Regions from separate parts of the Homo sapiens genome. Here region 2 is linked to region 1. Evidence: promoter capture Hi-C in human tissues and cell types (Jung and others, 2019). All regions are on one chromosome and are shown on one strand. The core of a region is centred on a gene start or on the middle of the fragment in contact, and the rest is flanking DNA. Distances in the headings are between cores, read along the strand shown. Region 1 holds the start of CXCL9 (C-X-C motif chemokine ligand 9). Region 2 has its middle 14 kb from the start of CXCL11.

Region 1 (3,152 bases), core at 254-2,753:
CTTTTATCCCTCACCCCGCTCCCACTCTTCTCCACAAGTCCCCAAACTCCATTGTATCATTCTTATGCCTTTGTGTCCTCATAGCTTAGCTCCCACATACCAGTGAGAACAGATGATGATTGGTTTTCCATTCCTGAGTTACTTCACTTAGAATAATAGTCTCCAATCTCATCCAGGTCACTGCTAATGCCGTTAATTCATTCCTTTTTGTGACTGAGTAGTATTCGATTGTGTATATATAAACCACAGTTTCTTTATTCACTCATTGATTGATGGGCATTTGGGTTGGTTCCATGATTTTGCAATTGTGAATTGTGCTGCTATAAACATGCATGTGCAAGTACATTTTTCAAATAATGACTTCTTTTCCTCTGGGTAGATACCCAGTAGTGGGATTGCTGGATAAAATGGTAATTCTGCTTTTTAGTTCTTTAAGGAATCTCCACACTGTTTTCCATAGCGGCTGTGCTAGTTTACATTCCCACCAGCAGTGTAGAAGTGTTCCCTGATCACCAAGTCCACACCAACATCTGCTGTTTTTTGATTTTTTGATTATGGCCATTCTTGCAGGTGTAAGGTGGTATCACACCGTGGTTTTGATTTGCATTTCCCTGATCATTAGTGATGAGCATTTTTTCATATGTTTGTTGGCTATTCGTGTATCTTCTTTTGAGAATTGTATATTGATGTCCTTAGCCCACTTTTTAATGGGATTGTTTGTTTTTTACTTAATGATTTGTTTGAATTCATTCTAGATTCTGGATATTAGTCCTTTGTCAGGTATATAGATTGTGAAGATTTTCTCCCACTCTGTGGGTTGTCTGTTTACTCTGCTGACTGTTCCTTTTGCTGTGCAAAAGCTCTTTAATTAGGTCCCAGCTATTTATCTTCATTTTTATTGCATTTCTTAGCCACTGTTAATTTGGGTCTCTTACATGCAACTGACCCCTTATTCTAACCAATTTATTAGTTTAAAAAATAATACTGTAGCAGGAATGATACAGAATGAGCTTACCACTAGTAGAAAATGACCTGGTCCCAGAGGAAATTAAGGTGCTTTAAGTTGTTAAGTGGGCAATATAAGAAAATATCAATGTAGCCATCTATTATACAGAAGAATATGCCATAAATAGTAAGGGAATTTGAAAAGTATATTATTTATCTGGACTTTAATATTTCCCATCTGGAAACCACATCTCCAACCTTTGTTGTATAACATTAGTATATTCATTATATAACCTATTCTTCACACAGGTGAGCAACTGTGAATGTGCCAAAGGCTATCAGTGTTGCTAGTTTCACATCCCTTACTATAAACCACCCATTTATGTGAAATGGAAATAAAAACATGCAGAAATTCCCTTGGATCTGAGACTAGGGTTTCCCCCAGCACAATCAAGTTTGTGGTCAATTTAGTTAGCTCAGCTAAAGATACTAGCCAATCAGAGTTTAGGAGAGAAATGAATATCCTAAATAAATATGATCCCCAAAATGTGTTCTCTAAAGAATTTCTCAGGCTCAAAATCCAATACAGGAGTGACTTGGAACTCCATTCTATCACTATGAAGAAAAGTGGTGTTCTTTTCCTCTTGGGCATCATCTTGCTGGTTCTGATTGGAGTGCAAGGTAAGGGGTTCTGAGTTAGGTTGTAAAGTAAGAGAAGTGATTCACTGTAAAAGAATCTTGATTAGCCAGATAAAGGTGAATGTTCTGCCTGCATTGAAGAGTAATATTTGGTCAGTCATAAAAGCTTCTCAGTGACATGACCAGTTATCCAAAGTTCATAACTTCGATCTGCCAAGTCAAACACAAGTCTTTGTAGTCTAGGTGTATGAATTCCTAGTAAGTGTTCAATAAATGTTCATTGAACTGGGTAATAATGAGAACTCTATCTCCTAAATTATTTTCTTCTCCCTGATACTGTTTTTTGCTAAGTATATCTGTGGCTAACCAATTAAGGATCCAACCAATAATCAGAGAATTTGTCCCTAATCTATTTACTAACTATCTTTGTTACCTTGGACAAATTACTTAATCTTTCTAGACCTCAGTTTCCTCATCATCTGTAAAATAGAACTTTGTAGTTATACCTTTTCTGACTGCTACACAATGTATGGCATATGGTACAATAAGTACCAAGTAAATATATGAATTTAAGAATTAAGATAATGTATTTTAAGGGGTTTTCAAAAATTTAAAACACTATTGAAAAGCAAGGCAGTGGGGAGGAGAGAGGATGAGGATGAAAGTGGTGATTGGTTACAAAGGAGTGCTTTCTATTCAACACCAACACCAGTTCCATTCCTTAAGGTCAGATAATAAATAATAGATGGTTTAGGAGTTGCTTAAGAAACTGTGATCAGCATAGCATACATGAATTAGTTATCTGTTTGTCTTGTGATAGGCATTTATTAAATATTGTGAAAGTCTCTTTTTCTCCCACGGACTTACGGTGTGGTAGTTAAGAGCAACGCCTTTGGACTCAGAGAGATCTGGGCTAAAACCCTGCCCCTGCTCCCTAAAAGCTGTATGACTTTGTTCTTAATCTTTCTGAACCTTAGTTTCCTTATGTATAAAATAGAGATGATACCTCCTTCAAAGGTTTGTGGTGATTATTTTTAGGCACTCGGTAAATGATAGCAATAATCATGACTCAGTCAAGTGTATCATTTTGATAGATCACCTAAACTGAAACATTGGCCTATACTGATGTGTTCTATCTTTTTCTTTCCCTCAGGAACCCCAGTAGTGAGAAAGGGTCGCTGTTCCTGCATCAGCACCAACCAAGGGACTATCCACCTACAATCCTTGAAAGACCTTAAACAATTTGCCCCAAGCCCTTCCTGCGAGAAAATTGAAATCATGTAAGTAACAACCCAGCTAACATGCATGCACCATATTGGCAAGAACATTAAATTTAGCATGAGTTTTACCCTTGGAGTGCTTGCCCATACAAACACTTAAAAATCAGATGGTTACCCCCTCCATAAATTTGGGCAGCTCCTTTCTTTTCTTCTCCTTAAAAATGCAAGGAATTTCTGGTAGATTAGGCCCCAAGAATGACACATGTTTATTGTACAAAATGTTTAATGCAGGTAACACAATAGAAGAAAATAAAAATCACGCATAATTCTACCCTTGAGTGACAAATA
Region 2 (3,152 bases), core at 254-2,753, 42 kb before region 1:
CTTACCCAGTGCCTAATGGCTACCTTGAATATAGCCTGCAGAATCTGTCTCATTTCTGGGACGGGTATTTTAATAATATTATAAGAAACTCACAGTAGTATTCTACTAAGAACTCTTAAAAAAAAATCCACCGGCAGCTCCCTAAAGTCATTGGCATGCCTAAATCCCTCTAAAAAACAGCATCAGGTACTATACTACTGTACTTTTGAGAGGTGACAGTGTGCTGGCAGTCCTCACAGCCCTCGCTTGCTCTCGGCACCTCCTCTGCCTGGGCTCCCACTTTGGCGGCACTTGAGGAGCCCTTCAGCCCACTGCTGCACTGTGGGAGCCCCTTTCTGGGCTGGCCAAGGCCGGAGCCGGCTCCCTCAGCTTGCAGGGAGGTGTGGAGGGACAGGCGCCAGCGGGAACCAGGGCTGCGCGTGGGCTTGCAGGCCAGCTGGAGTTCCGGGTAGGCGTGGGCTTGGCGGGCCCCGCACTCGGAGCAGCCCGCCGGCCCTGCCGGCCCCAGGCAATGAGGGGCTTAGCACCCGGGCTAGCAGCTGCGGAGGGTGTACTGGGTCCCCCAGCAGTGCCAGCCCACTGGCACTGCGCTCCATTTCTCATCGGGCCTTAGCTGCCTTCCTGCGGGGCAGGGCTCAGGACCTGCAGCCCGCCATGCCTGAGCCTCCCACCCCCTCCATGGGCTCCTGTGTGGCCCGAGCCTCCGCGACAAGTGCCACCCCCTGCTCCACGGTGCCCAGTCCCATCGACCACCCAAGGGCTGAGGAGTGCGGGCACACAGCACCGGGACTGGCAGGCAGCTCCACCTGCAGCCCTGGTGCGGGATCCACTGCGTGAAGCCAGCTGGGCTCCTGAGTCTGGTGGGAACATGGAGAACTTTTATGTCTAGCTCAGGGATTGCAAATACACCAATCGGCCCTCTGTATCTAGCTCAAGGTTTGTAAATACACCAATCAGCACCCTGTGTCTAGCTCAGGGTTTGTGAATGCACCAATTGACACTCCGTATCTAGCTATTCTGGTGGGGCCCTGGAGAACCTTTGTGTCGACACTCTGTATCTAGCTAATCTGGTGGGGATGTGGAGAACCTTTGTGTCTAGCTCAGGGATTGTAAACCCACCTATCAGCGCCCTGTCAAAACAGACCACTCAGCTCTACCAATTAGCAGGACGTGGGTGGGGCCAGATAAGAGAATAAAAGCAGGCTGCCCGAGCCAGCAGTGGCAACCCGCTCAGGTCCCCTTCCACACTGTGGAAGCTTTGTTCTTTCACTCTTTGCAATAAATCTTGCTGCTGCTCACTCTTTGGGTCCACACTGCTTTTATGAGCTGTAACACTCACCGCGAAAGTCTGCAGCTTCACTCCTGAGCCAGTGAGACCATAAGCCCACCGGGAGGAACGAACAACTCCAGACGCGCCGCCTTAAGAGCTGTAACACTCACCGCTAAGGTCTGCAGCTTCACTCCTGAGCCAGTGAGACCACGAACCCACCAGAAGGAACAAACTCCGAACACATCCAAACATCAGAAGGAACAAACTCCAGACGCGCCACCTTAAGAGCTGTAACACTCACCGTGAGGGTCCGCGGCTTCATTCTTGAAGTCAGCGAGACCAAGAACCCACCAATTCCGGACACATCTTGGCAACCACGAAGGGACTTTCGCCTATCGCCGAGCGGTAAGACCATCGCCTATCGCCGAGCGGTGAGACAATCGCCTATCGCCAAGCAGTGAGTACCATCAGACCCCTTTCGCTTGCTATTCTGTCCTATTTTTCCTTAAAATTTCGGGGGCTAAATACCGGGCACCTGTCGGCCAGTTAAAAGAGACTAGTGAGGCTGCCGGACTAAAGACATGGGTGTCAGGCTGTCTGGGAAAGGGCTCTCTAACAACCCCTGACTCTTTGGAGTTGGGACCGTTGGTTTGCCTAGAACCAGCTTCCGCTTTTCCTGTACTTCTGGGCTGAGCCGAGGGTCGACAGAGAGGAAAGCCATGCAGCTCCAAGGTCCCGACAACATGTTGGCTGACCCTGCGGCCATGAGCGGCACTCTCAAAAGCATGTCGCCCAAGAAAGACTCACCCATCTATCCTATCTATCCTGACCCTTGCCGCCTGGGTCCTAATGCCTGCCAGACAAACTTCCTCTCGCCTGTCTTCTCTGAGGTTAGACCCACTTCTAAAAATTGCTACCTGTCCCTGGTGCTTTTCTAGTTTCTCCTATAAGAATGATTTATAGTATAAACTCCAGGACTCTGTTACCTTCTTTAGGCACCCAGGCTCACCAATCAGAAAGACATGATTTTTGCCCAAAGCCCCGTCATAGTGGGGACTACCTGGAATTTTAGGATCCCTCCTGAGACTAACAGGCCTAACAAAAGCTATTCCTGAAGCTAGGATATGGGGAGCCTCAGAAATTGTATCCTTCCTATTCATATAAGTGAGGAAAAAGGTGTCACTCTTCCAACCCTGAAGATCCCTTCCCTCCCTCAGGGTATGGCCCTCCACTTCATTTTTGGGGCATAAGATCTTTATAGGACAGGGGTAAAGTCCCAATACTAACAGGAGAATGCTTAGGACTCTAACAGGTTTTTGAGAATGCATCATAAGGGCCACTAAATCCGATTTTTTGTGGTCGGTCCTCCTTGTGGTCTAGGAAGACAGGCAAGGGTGCAGGTTTTCGAGAATGCATTGGTAAGGACCACTAAATCCGACCTTCCTCAGTCCTCCATGTGGTCTGGGAGGAAAACTAGTGTTTCCGCTGCTGCGTCAGTGAGCACAACTATTCTGATCAGCAGGGTCCAGAGACTGTTGCGGGTTCTTGGGCAGGGGTTGTTTCTGCTGCTGCATCGGTGAGCGCAACTATTCCAATCAGCAGGGTCCAGGGACCGTTGTGGGTTCTTGGGCAGGGGGAGAAACAAAATAAACCAAAACCACGGGTGGTTTTGCCTTTCAGATGGGAAACACTCATGCATCAACAGGCTCACCCTTGAAATGCATCCTAAGCCATTGGGACCAATTTGACCCACTAACCCTGAAAAAGAGATGGCTCATTTTTTTCTACACTATGGCTTGGCCCCAATATTCTCTCTCTGATGGGGAAAAATGGCCACCTGAGGGAAGTACAAATTATAATACTATCCTGCAGCTTGATCTTT

Evidence for each region. The method cuts DNA at HindIII sites, captures the fragments that hold promoters and counts their contacts. A contact is called where the count stands out against the background at its distance.
Region 2: a fragment that was not itself captured here is called in contact with the fragment with the promoter of CXCL9 in region 1 in 1 of the 25 tissues and cell types used here (mesenchymal stem cells).

Annotation. Positions count from the first base shown.
Region 1 is chr4:76,005,860-76,009,011 of GRCh38, reverse strand. It overlaps CXCL9 (C-X-C motif chemokine ligand 9), which reads left to right and starts at 1,503. Exons shown (of 4, transcript NM_002416.3): 1 at 1,503-1,626; 2 at 2,738-2,864. The coding sequence starts at 1,563. SDAD1-AS1 (SDAD1 antisense RNA 1) reads right to left here. Exons shown (of 3, transcript NR_125906.1): 3 at 3,070-3,152. The HindIII fragment of the contact is 7,232 bases long and covers 792-3,152 here.
Region 2 is chr4:76,048,275-76,051,426 of GRCh38, reverse strand. It overlaps a transcript of ART3 not described here. Among named protein-coding and RNA genes, the nearest start is that of CXCL11, 14 kb to the right of the region's middle. The HindIII fragment of the contact is 3,429 bases long and covers 1-3,152 here.